4 separate regions of the Homo sapiens genome follow, and all the other regions are linked to region 1. The links are contacts of gene promoters, found by promoter capture Hi-C in human tissues and cell types (Jung and others, 2019). All regions are on one chromosome and are shown on one strand. The core of a region is centred on a gene start or on the middle of the fragment in contact, and the rest is flanking DNA. Distances in the headings are between cores, read along the strand shown.

Region 1 (3,284 bases), core at 710-3,209:
ATGCTAATTAAGAATTCTACATATTTCCTTACTGTTTCTAAACGATAGAACCTCAGATTTGGGAAGTTACTGAAGGCCGATGCTTTAGGAAGAACAGAAAGTTGGGGTATTTCTGTGACAACATCTTTTTAAGAAAAAGAGTCATAAGGGAATTTAATGAAAAAGGGAATTTAAATGAAAAAAGAAAGCACAAACAAAAAAGCCTTCAAGGCAAATAAATTAAAAACAAACAAAAACTTGTGGAAAGAGTAGGTAGATTAAATTCTGTAATTTCTAATTACTTTCCACACAAAATCTGGTAATGGGAAGTCATGAATTCTGGTTAAAAATTGGATACTTCAGATTTTAAATCAAAACTAAAACTTTTCCAGCTATGCTCAAAGGATACATTTCTTTTATGTAAGTACTGCATCAGAAGTAGTATTCCTTTTAAAAGGGGAAAATTGCAAATTAGTCTCTTCAGGGATGTCTGTAAGTTTAAAGCTATGTCAATAGACTTACAGTCTGATCTCAGTATTGTAAAGGTTAGAGTATGAACTCTATTGAAAACATATGAATGTTTTCAGCATCTGCATTTTTAACTTGTTTCAGAAGCCCATGGATATAGTAGTAGTATAAACTTTGGGAAAATACTTATTCAGGAGTCTGCAGATGGCATAAGAATAAGACACCTATAATTTACTAACGGTTTTAACATTTTGACCCTTTTGCTATCCACTGTATTTTAAATTGATTTCTTTGTATTTGGTAAAACTTAAAGAAGCTTTGCTTTTTCTCAGGAAAATCTGAATTGATTGAAGGAAAAAAAATTAACAGTTTTTCTCACTTAAACACAGAAATGTTATATTTACTTGGATATTTAGTTTTAAAAATTGGCTAAAGGCATGCAGGGGCCTTCTGCGCCTGGTACATCTTAGTTATGTACGTATTTATCCAGAAATTTTAAGTAGATTTTGACAGGTGACTTCAACAAAACCCCATAGTTTTAGTCTACACATTTTTTAATAAGTACATGATTTGTTCTTGAAGTCTTCAAGACTAGAACCAGAATGCTAAGTATTACCTTATGTGGAAGAGGTACAATTACAAAGTCAATAATGGAAATATAAAAAGTGGCCCATTTCAGGAAGTTATCTATAACTTAAACATCAAGTAGTAAGTTTAAAATTGTGTACACTTGTATATCATCAATAAACAGGTCTGTGAAATTTTTCTGTAGTATAACTTTTATGAAATTTATCAGTAACAAGTATTACAGTTTGTTGATTTTTATATGTAATTTGTTTTAATCTATATTGTTTGGGGGAACAAAAGATATCTACATTGAAAAAACTGTGGCATATGTGAGTTAGAATGAATAAAATTATAATAAAATTTCATGTGGAGAAAAATAACTTTATTGATATTTAAGGTATTCCATCACAGAAGGCAGCTGCATTCCTTTAAGCGGGTGTGCTTTTTAGCATAGAAATTTTTCAAGTTTTAAATCACATTATCTTTTTTTTTTCTGATCAATGAGTTCTCTCCCTCCACCCTAACACATCACATATGCACACATTTTAATGTTCAATAAGTGCTTGTTGAATGACTGAACGTTAAGAATGGATTTCTCAGTGTTGTAAAACAGAGAGAGACCTGAATTTTGAGTATGAGTGGTATTGGAATATATGGGGAAAACTCCAGATTTGTGCATATAATAAACTGATAGCATTAAGTAGTATGAGTGTTACAACTTAGGTGTATCTTCTGTGTTTAACCATCTATTTTGTGTGACGAATGGTGATTTATCAATTTCTTCAAATGAAAGCTTTAAATGAATTTTTCTAAAGGTGACTTTCTCAAGGATAGAGCTTTGGATTTTAAAGATGATGGATAAACTAAAGAGAGTGAATTTTATTTTAGAGGTTATCTTTATTTTAGGAATTTTAAAAATATATTATAGAAAAGGCTGGAAATTTATGCCTATGGGAGACAATTTTATTTCTCTTGTTTCAATAATAGCAATTAAAAAACAAGACATTAACTGTCAGTAATCTATTATGGTGAGGGTTATATGAATATATACATGTGTTAAAATGTATGGAACTATACACCAAAAAAGTCAAGTTTACTATATGATACCGTAGAAAATAAAATTTTTAAAAATCAATGCATTGATATAATGTACAAGAGAAACATATATATTACTGTAAAAATGCTGTATTAGTTTCCTATGGCTGCTGTAACAAAGTATCACAAACTGGATTGGCTTAAAACCACACAAATGTATTGTCTCAGAGTTCTGGAGGCTAGAAATCCAAAATCAAGGTGTTGGCAGTGCTATGCTCCTTCTGCAACCTACAGGGGAATCCTTTGTTGCCTCTTGCTAGCTTCTGGTGGTTTGTTGGCTGTCTTTGGCATTCTTTGACTTGGAGCTGCAAAATTCCAATCTCTGATTTTGTGGTCACGTGGCATTCTCCCTGTGTGTGTCTGTTTTCACATGGCCTTCTTATAAGGACACCGGTCATATTGGATTAGGGGCTCACCCTACTCCAGTATGACCTCATCTCAATCACATACACAACAACCCTATTCCCAAAGTCACATCATGAGGGACTGAGGTTATGTTCTGAGGTATTGGGGGTTAGGACTTCAGCATATTTTTTGGGGGGTGACATAATTCAGCCCATAACAGCTTCTCATACTTGTTTCTTGTTGCATATCTGAGTTTCATGTGAATTTTAAACTTTATTACATTAAGTATGGCTTAAGTTAGGAAATCACCACATTAATTTTATTAGGTAAGCATTATTTAGACTTGCTTGATTCAATTTGCATGATTATTTAATCTTAATACATGTGGAATATTTTTGACAAATAAGTGGTTATTTAAAGGTTAAAATTGTCATTCTTGATAAAAAATGATGACTGTGTGATATAGCACTCATGGTATACATATATGAATGAATAGATTACTGTGGGTTTTTTTTCATGCACACCATTTATAACTCAGCTTTAGAAATGGATAACCTTGAAAGCATATGAACAGTGTTTTAATGTCTGTTTCCAAACCCTAAATTACTATGGTTTACAATTAGTGCTTGATATTAGAAATAGATAATAATTTATTCCAGATAATTTTTATGTGAATTTTTTTACCTTGTGGTTTATTTATAGGCTTATTTCTTTCTAACATAGGCAGCATGCTTCTTGGACACTTTTAGCCTATCATGGAGCTAGTAGACTAAGAAAATCATACTTATTTAAATATTAGCTGTAGTATTATGTGATTATACGCTAAATTA
Region 2 (3,049 bases), core at 102-2,601, 410 kb after region 1:
CTCCATGTTGGTCAGGCTGATCTCGAACTCCCGACCTCAGGTGATCCGCCTGCCTCGGCCTCCCAAAGTGCTGGGATTACAGGCGTGAGTCACAGTGCCTGGCCTTTTTTTTTTTTTTTTTTTTTGAGACAGAGTCTCTGTCACCCAAGCTGAAGTGCAGTGGCACAATCTCAGCTCACTGCAACCTCTCCCTCCCGGGTTCAAGCGATTCTCCCATTGAGATTCTATTTCTTTTTCTTTTTCTTTTTCTTTCTTTCTTTTCTTTTTTTTTTTTTTTTGATTACCCAGGCTAGAGTGCAGTGGCACGATCTCAACTCGTTGCAACCTGCGCCTCCCCAGGTTCAAGCAATTCTCCTGCCTCAGCCTCCCATGTACCTGCTGGGATTACAAGTTCGTGCCACCACACCCGGCTAATTTTTGTATTTTTAGTAGAGACAGGGTTTCACCATGTTGGGCCAGGCTAGTCTCGAACTCCTGACCTCAAGTGATCCACCTGCGTTGAGGCTGCCCAAAGTGCTAGGATTACAGGTGTGAGCCACCTTGCCTGGCAGCGGAAGTTCTATTTCTATCAGCGCCTTAGGTATTACTTCCTCCAGAGGTGAAAGTGGCCACTCAAATCTTGGGCACCCCTAGGAGTCAGGATGTTGGACACAGGGCTTAACGGAGCCTGCACTCCTAGGCCTGAGCTTCCAGATCTGTGGCTGTCAGCCCCGTGGCATGGATGGAGAAGAGCCTGGCCAAGCCCCCAAGCCCCTGTACAAGAAGACTGGGAGTGTGGCCAGTGCACAGGATGGGTCCTGGAGCTCATGCCTTTGCTAGGCCACTTCCAGCCTTGGAAGTCCATCAGCCCTGGCTTTGAATCCTGCCTCCAACATGTTCTAGCTGTATGGCCGACGGCGGGCAAGTCATTTACCTCTTGGAGCCTCATCTGTGAAATGTGGATGATTGATTCCCTACCTCATGGTGCTGTGATGAGGATTTCTTGAGAGGATGACCTAGTAGTGCCCTTGGCATGGTTCCTGTCACTTAGTCAGTGCTCTGTGATCAGCAGCTGGTATTATTATAACAGTTTATCATGCATCTGTCTTCCCACCTGAAACGTGGGACAATAACCCCTGTCATACTGGCTTGAAGGACATGGTGTCGTCTGTGTGAGCTGTGGGGTCAGTATAGCTGGCATTTCTGCCACTCGAAGGCCAGCCCAACCCTACAGGGGTAAGGAGACACACCCAGTTCCCAGCACCAGGGGAAGCTGGATGACAGCTTCAATCCATCAATGATAGGCCTCAGTCCAGCCTAACTTTATGGACTGCAGAGGTACTTAAGTCTGTGGGGGTTGAAGTCTAGCCCAGTTCATCTTCCACACGGGCTGCTGCCCAGAGCAGGTAGGCAGGTATGGGATGGGGGTGAGAGTGCCCTGGGCCCTGGTAGTTCTAGTTAATCAGCTTCCAAAGCAAGGCCCCAAGGAATAGCAGTGGATTTGGGCTGGAGCTGCGTCTCTTGTCCGCAGCAGTTCAGGATCTGGTTATCCCTAGCCCTGCAGGCTGAAGAGGAGCTTGAGGAAACCTCATGCATGAAGGGACACAGATCTCAGTTCTACCTTGTCCAACTCTAGCCTGGCTTTGCCCATGTACTGCTCAGTTCTGCAGGGGGTGGGGTGTACTTTTCTGCTCTGCAGGCTCCTACCCCCTTGTCCACTGACGCAGGGTGAAGGCTGGGGTGTGTGAGACCAGAGTGGAAGGGAGGTTGTCTGGAGAACTAAACGACAGCCCTGGGGGCAACTCTTGTGACCTCCTGCCCCAGGCTCCCAGCACCATGACGGTTTCATACACTCTCAAAGTGGCGGAGGCCCGCTTCGGAGGTTTCTCTGGCCTGCTTCTCCGCTGGAGGGGAAGCATCTACAAGCTCCTCTACAAGGAATTCCTCCTCTTTGGGGCCTTGTACGCTGTGCTTAGCATCACCTACCGGTAAGGGCAGGGTCTTAGAGCTGGCGCAAGTGGGGAGACTGGGCCACCCACCTCCCTCTAACCCAAGCCTACACCTGCCTTCCCCAGGCTGCTGCTGACCCAGGAGCAGAGGTACGTGTATGCTCAGGTGGCCCGGTACTGCAACCGCTCAGCAGACCTCATTCCCTTGTCCTTTGTATTGGGTAAGGCTCCCTTCTAGTTTTCCCTGTGTCCCCCTTACTGTGTTCCCTGACCTCTGGGTTGGGTTGACAGCTCCGAGGGTCAGAATTACCCAACAGATGGTGTGGTGACACACCTGCAGTCTCAGCTACTCGAGAGGCTGAGGTGAGAGGATCGCTTGAGCCCAGGAGTTCCAGTCCAGCCTGGGCAATGTAGCGAGACTCTGCTAAAAAAAAAAAAAAAAAAAAAAAGAATTACTCAACACGGTGGCAGAGCCTTCCTGGTCAGCCAGAGCAGGCCCAGCAGGCACAGGAGCTGGGTGCTGGGTCCAGGACTTCCAGAGGGCAGGGCCCTATCACTTGCCGGACCCTCACTTCCAGCAAGGCACAAGACACCTGCTGGCCTCACAAGCCCACCCTGGGCACTGCAGGGGAGCTGGACAGAGGTGACAACCCCTTCCCCACCCTCCTGGGAAGCAGTCTCCTGGCTTTGAATCCCCACTTTCCCTCTGCTGAAGGAAGTTTGCCCTCCTCCCTCCTCCTGGCCTCGCACAGCAGGGCACTGGAGCTGAATGTTTCCTTCCCCCTGCCACGATTCAACTGGCCTGGACCAGGCCCTTTGCTGGGGGAGGTGAGGCGCTCCGACCCCCAGGCTCTCCACTCTCCCTTCCTACTCCCTCTATCACGGCGGCCAAGCAGGTTTCTATGTGACTCTCGTGGTGAACCGCTGGTGGTCCCAGTACACAAGCATCCCGCTGCCAGACCAGCTGATGTGCGTCATCTCGGCTAGCGTGCACGGCGTGGACCAGCGGGGCCGCCTGCTGCGCCGCACCCTCATCCGCTACGCGAACCTGGCGTCCGTGCTGGTGCTGCGCTCGGTCAGCACCCGCGTGCTTAAGCGCTTCCCCACCATGGAGCACGTGG
Region 3 (3,232 bases), core at 568-3,067, 290 kb before region 1:
TCCACAGCTCACTGTAGCCTTGACCTCTGGGCTCAGGTGATCTTCTGGCTTTAGCCTCCCAAGTAGCTAGGACCACAGGTACATGCCACCATTTTGGGCTCATTTTTTTTTTTTTTTCTGTACAGACAGGGTCTCGCTATGTTGCCCAGGCTGGTCTCAAACTCCTGGCTTCAAGTGATCCACCTTGGCCTCCCAAAGTGCTGAGATTACAGAAGTGAATCACTGTGTCTGGCCATATTTTTTTTTTTTTTTTTTTTTTGAGACGGAGACTTGCTGTGTCGCCCAGGCTGGAGTGCAGTGGTGCGATCTTGGCTCACTGCAACTTCTGCTTCCCGGGCTCAAGCGATTCTCTTGCCTCAGCCTCCTGAGTAGCTGGGACTACAGGCACGCGCCAATACACCCAGCTAATTTTTCTATTTTTAGTAGAGACGAGGTTTCACCATGTTTGCCAGGATGGTCTCGATCTTCTGACTTCGTGATCCCCCTGCCTCGGCCTCCCAAAGTGGTGGGATTACAGGCGTGATCCACTGCTCCCGGCCCTGGCCATATTTCTTAAACTTTATGGCCACCAGGAATGCATACCACTTATACTCTTCCAGGAGGATGAAAGTCTTAAGATGTCTGAAAAGGGGTCTCTAACCCCTGGGAGTGCTAATACAGTAAGGCCCATACTGCTTGCTCTTGCCCTCCTCCTGTTCTAGTCTCTTCAGTCATGAGATTATGAGCTCCTGATGTCCAGGCACATGCAAAAAGTGAAGAAATATGTGCCTTGAACAGCTGGGCAGAATTCTTAGCTGGGAGCGGTGGCTCACGCCTGTAATCCCGGCACTTTCGTAGGCCAACGTGGGCCGATCACTTGAGTCCAGGAGTTACAGACCAGCCTGGGCAACATGGTAAACCCCGTCTCTACAAAATATACAAAAAATTAGTCAGGCATGCTGGCGTGTGCCTGTAGTCCCAGCTATCCGGGGAGGCTGAGTTGGGAGGATCATCTTAATCCAGGAGTTTGAGGCTGCAAGTGAGCCATGATCGCTCCATTGCACTCCATCATCCTGGGCGACAGAGTGAGACCCTTCTAAAAAAAAAACAACCAACAAAAACAACAAAAAATCCCAACTTATTCCCCACCAGCTTTCTTTCAAAATCTGTTTTCAAGCTAGCTGAAGTGTTACCTCCTCTAAGCTTTCACTTAACCGAATCTCATAGTCATGATTAATTGCTTCCCTAGCATTTTGTTTAGCTCTACTGATTGCTCTTACTATTTCAAGTCGGTATTATTGATATATTTTTTCCTCCTCACTATACTGAAATCCTGCAGGACGCAGCATTCTTACCGCTTTTCCTTACTCAGCTATACCTTGACCAACCCGAAAGCCGCGCCAGTCTAGTCCATTTTCTATTGGCTTTATCAATTACCAATCATTTCTGTGTTTAACATTTTTATTGGTCCATCTTGTGTTTACTGCCCCGCCCTCTAAGAGGCTCCTGGACTTGGGTTTCCCCCAGGTGTATTCCCTCCTCCTCGGTTCCGCCTTTCCCACACACTGCTTCTTCTGTTTTTACCTCGACTTCCTTCCTATTGGTTCCCTTCGTCCTCCGGAGTTGGCACCTACGGCTGTTGATTGGCTTTTCTGGACGCCCATTGTGCCCACCCTCATACCACGTGGCATTCCTAGCGCTAATTGGGCAATTCCACTACCTCGTTTATCAGGAGTTGACGGTTGACTGGCTACTCTGAGGGAGGGCTTGAGGGAGGGGCGTGGCCAGCCGAGACCCCGCCCCCAACCCCCCTGCTGGGCCGGGTAGGCGTTTCAGTCTTTCGCGGCCCGGGAGCTCAGCAGAGCTACCAGCTGCCCTGTTGGCTTCGCTGGTCGGATCGTCCTCCTGGCCCCGCCAAACAGGCGGGGGGAGCGGCCCCGACTGTGGGGCCATGGCAGTAGTCTCCTCGTTCGCCGCCGCCGCTAGCCTAGCTGAGTCGCCGGCTTCTGCGCTAGGGGCTCCCACCGCCTCCGCAGGCTAAGGAGCCGCTGCCACCAACGAGCTGTGAGGGTTACTATGCTCCCTCTTTGCCGCCGTCTCCTCCTCTTGCCCGCGCAGGCACCCCTCTGGCTGCTCAGTCCTGCCTCAGGTAACGTGAAAAGAGGACGGGGGTCACAAACCCGGGCATCCTGCCTGGCCCGCGCGCGCTGCCGCTCCACCTCCTCTGCCCCGGAGCAGAGGCGCCTGCGTCCCTCCGCACCCGACGGGACCCCTCGGCTTCCCAGAGGTCCCCCTCTCAGCGGCGGCGGACGCTCCCTTCCTGGCCGCTTTCCCCTTTCCTTCTCACTTCCCTCAGGCTCCCCGCCACGTCTGCTCCCCCTTAGAACCTGGGAACCCATTAGAAGTTACCTCGCTCGCATTAGGGATCTTTCGTTTTCTCGGAAAACTCTTGTTTCAGAGACTTCCAGCTCCCCACTGAGCGCCTCCCTGCTCGCATACCCGCTCCTGCCTCAGAGATCTGGGTTCCTTCACTTGACTTCCCTCCGATACACTCTTCCCTCGAAAACGTTCACCTCTACCCAGGAAAACAATTCCCTCCCCTCAGACCCTACTGCCTTCCCCCTCTTCTTTCCTCGCTTGTCATCGTCTCCCTTCCTTTCCCCTCTCTGCTTTTTACTCTTCGCTGTGAAGAGTGGACTAAGCCAGTGTTCAGATTTCGCTACAAGCGAAATCCAGGTTTGCGTAATTTAAAAGTCTTTAAATTGTATACCTCTGAGAAGAACTTGCTGAGGAATTTGGACTTCATGCTGCATGCATGGGGAGCCGTTGAAGGTTTTGTAAGCAGGAGCTTGGTATGATTGCATTATCTTTGGTGAAAATATAGAGGAAGGATTGAAAGTGAAGACCGTGGAGGCGGAAAGGCCAGGTAGGCAGAAAACGAGTGTGCTCATCCAGGCGGGAGGGAATGGCCCGAAATTCCAAGAGGTTTCAAAATAAAGTTGAGAAGAATAGTAGAAAGTTTCTGACTTGGCTGATGGTGTGAATCGGTAGTGTTAATTGAAATAGGGAACATAGTCTCTGGTTATACCACCCTCAACGCTCCTGATCTCATCTGAAATAGGGAGCATAAAAAAGCAATTTTGAGAGAAGGTAATAAATTTGGTTTTGAACAAGTTAAGTTTCAGGGTTTGTTTGTTAGTTTTTGTTTTTTTTGACGGAGTCTCATTCTGTCACCCAGGCTGGAGTGCAGTGG
Region 4 (2,893 bases), core at 234-2,733, 460 kb after region 1:
ACCTCCGCCTCCCAGGTTCAAGCAGTTCTCCTGCCTCAGGCTCCCAAGTAGTTGGGATTACAGGCATGCACTACCACGACTGGCTAATTTTTGTATTTTCAGTAGAGACAGGTTTCGCCATGTTGGCCAGGATGGTCTCGAACTCCTGACATCAGGTGATCTGCCCGTCTCAGCCTCCCAAAGTTCTGGGATTACAGGCGTGAGTGAGAAGAGCACAGCATCAGAAACTAGGCTCTCACAGATTCCACTTCTGCACAGATCCTTTATGTAGGAAGACATTAAATGTGGTAGAGGAATTCTCATAGAACCTACCTCTTTGCCCTTTGTGGCACCTCCTTCTGCCCATTCCACTGAAACACAGGATTTCTCCAAGTTCACAGTCCTTACATTGGCACTGTGAATTAAACCTATAAAGTATGAAAAAACCAGAGTTACCCATCTCTTTCCTGAGAGCTTCACTTTTAGGATTCCACAGAGATTCCCAAAGTGGAGTTAACCTGAAGGAACAGGCAGCTACCTTAAAAAAAAAAAAAAAAAAAACTAAGAGAAACAAATAAATCTCCTGGGCTTCACCTTTAGAATATCCACAGTGAGGTGGGCTGGGGACAGGTTTTTAAACTGAGCTGCATGGGATAAGGATTCACCCCTACTCAAGAGAGCCTACAAAAAAAGAGAGATAGAGCCTACAAAAGAGAACATACAAAAGGTATGTTTGAGCACAGGATTCCCCACAACCCTTAGATGAACTTTTCCTCAACATAGCATTGAGGATCTGGCCCTTTTGGGGTTTTCCTAACTCATTTCTGGCGGTCATATCTGTCCATTTCCCTAATGACACGGGTATCAGACCTGCCAGAACTGCGGTACCTGCTTAAGCAAAAGAGAGAACGACTACAAGCTCCTCAAGCGCAGGGTTCTTGTCTGTCCCGTTTACCTGACATACCGCAACTGCGCAATATTTATTCGAGAGTAAAGGGGCCAGGAGACCGAGGTCCCCATAAGAGCAGGGCATTTTCAGGGGAGAATTTTGGAAGGGAAGTGAATTTAGAAGTCCCAACTTCCCTGGGAGGTCTACCAGCCTTGGAGAAGGTCCGCCCACTCCCAGAGGACTGCGAAAGGGACCACGTACAGCGCAGGGACTCTCACCCCTGTGTAGGCAAGAATGACTGCCAGTGCAGAGACCCGGAGTGAGTGCGTGTGAAAAGGAGGGAGGGAGAGAAAGAGAGTGAAAGCCCATCTGTGTGTCCGGGGACGGGCAGTAATTTCAGTCGTCTCACCGCTCACGAGTCCCCTTGACCTAGGGACCCCGCTCCTCACCATTACTGCGTTGGATCTTGATAGCGAGACCGGGAAACAGGCGGGCCTGAAGCGACGAGTCCATGGCCATTCGGAGAGTCAGCAAGGAAGAGAAACGCGCAATACCAAGAAACCTCAATTTCGCTAACCCTACGAAGTCTTAACGCCGCGTAAACCGCCGCAGTTTAAATCCCGCGCGCAAGCGTCCTTAAAACGTCATTCCGCTGTCCCCGCCCTCGCTTCCGCCAGTCAGCGGCGCCCTGCGGAGCCTTGGGGGAGACGCAGTTCCCAACCATCTTCCTACGCTTGGCACCGCCCATGCGTCTGGCCACACCCCCGAGCGCTGTGCCTTCTGGGAACTTCGCCGCTACGTGGGGTCTGGGGCTCCCATTTCTGGTATTGTCCTCGGTCACCTTGTACTGCGGGGTTCCCGAAAACTGGGAAACTTCAGTATGTATTTGACAATGAGGGCTCTGGGATCCTACAGACATGGGTTCGAATCGTAGCTTCTTCAATTGCAAGTTCAGTGACCTCGAGCAAGTTGGAGACTTGGCCGGGCGCGGTGGCTCACTCCTGTTAATCCCAACACTTAGGAAGGGAGAGGTGGGAGTGATCGCTCGAGATCAGAAGTTCGAGACCAGACAGGGCAACATAGCCAAGACCCTGTTCTCAAAGCAAAACAAAACCACAGATTAGAAACTTGACTTAGTTTTTCTTATTAAATAGTGCAGAAGCATGTTGCCTCATTCAAGGAGTTATGTATAAATTTCCAGAAAGACACTGATTCACCAGATATTTATTGAGTGAAGTCTACCACCTGCTAGGCATGGTACCAGGAAATGGAGATAATGAACTAGACACATAGTTCCTGTCCTCCTTTTTTTTTTTTTCCATTTAACCCTTAGTGGACACAGCACATGTTTCAGAGAGCACGGGGTTGGGGGTAAGGTTATAGATTAACAGCATCCCAAGGCAAAAGAATTTTTCTTAGTACAGAACAAAATGGAGTCTCCTATGTCTACTTCTTTCTACACAGACACAGTAACAATCTGATCTCTCTTTCTTTTCCCCACATTTCCCCCTTTTCTATTCGACAAAACCGCCATCGTCATCATGGCCCGTTCTCAATGAGCTATTGGGTACACCTCCCAGATGGGGTGGCGGCGGGGCAGAGGGGCTCCTCACTTCCCAAATGGGGCAGCCGGGCAGAGGCGCCCCCCCCCCCCACCTCCCAGACAGGGCGGCGGCTGGGAGGGGGCTGCCCCCCACCTCCCAGACGGGGCGGCTGGCCGGTCGGGGGCTTTCCCCCCACCTCCTGGACGGGGCGGCTGCCGGGAGGAGACGCTCCTCATCTCCCGGACGGGGCGGCTGCCGGGCAGAGTGGCTCCTCACTTCTCAGACGGGGCGGCCAGTCAGAGACGATCCTCACCTCCCAGACAGGGTGGCGGCGGGGCAGAGACACTCCTCAGTTCCCAGACGGGGTCGCGGCGGGGCAGAGGCGCTCCCCACATCCCAGACGATGGGCGGCCGGGAAGAGACGCTCCTCACTTCCTAGACCGGGTGGCGGCCGAGCAGAGGCTGCAATCTCGGCACTTTG

Evidence for each region. Contacts are between HindIII fragments. The study calls those that stand out against the background at their distance.
Region 2: the fragment with the promoter of BEST4 here is called in contact with a fragment that was not itself captured in region 1 in 1 of the 25 tissues and cell types used here (hippocampus).
Region 3: a contact is called between the fragment with the promoter of TESK2 here and a fragment that was not itself captured in region 1, in 1 of the 25 tissues and cell types used here (heart right ventricle).
Region 4: the fragment with the promoter of KIF2C here is called in contact with a fragment that was not itself captured in region 1 in 1 of the 25 tissues and cell types used here (dorsolateral prefrontal cortex).

What each region holds. Positions count from the first base shown.
Region 1 is chr1:45,200,258-45,203,541 of GRCh38, reverse strand. All of the region lies in intron 1 of ZSWIM5 (zinc finger SWIM-type containing 5), which reads left to right. Among named protein-coding and RNA genes, the nearest start is that of ZSWIM5, 4.7 kb to the left of the region's middle. The HindIII fragment of the contact is 4,650 bases long and covers 1-3,284 here.
Region 2 is chr1:44,786,472-44,789,520 of GRCh38, reverse strand. It overlaps BEST4 (bestrophin 4), which reads left to right and starts at 1,351. Exons shown (of 9, transcript NM_153274.3): 1 at 1,351-1,967; 2 at 2,055-2,149; 3 at 2,825-3,049. The coding sequence starts at 1,816. RefSeq lists enhancers at 2,123-2,808, 2,810-2,899, 2,809-3,049 and a silencer at 3,020-3,049. The HindIII fragment of the contact is 9,775 bases long and covers 1-3,049 here.
Region 3 is chr1:45,489,748-45,492,979 of GRCh38, reverse strand. TESK2 (testis associated actin remodelling kinase 2) reads left to right here and starts at 1,817. Exons shown (of 11, transcript NM_007170.3): 1 at 1,817-2,128. RefSeq lists enhancers at 1,529-1,823, 2,110-2,159 and a silencer at 1,660-1,879. The HindIII fragment of the contact is 6,056 bases long and covers 1-2,361 here.
Region 4 is chr1:44,738,427-44,741,319 of GRCh38, reverse strand. It overlaps KIF2C (kinesin family member 2C), which reads right to left and starts at 1,483. Exons shown (of 21, transcript NM_006845.4): 1 at 1,318-1,483; 2 at 313-407. The coding sequence starts at 1,387. RefSeq lists an enhancer at 1,663-1,832. The HindIII fragment of the contact is 13,379 bases long and covers 1-2,893 here.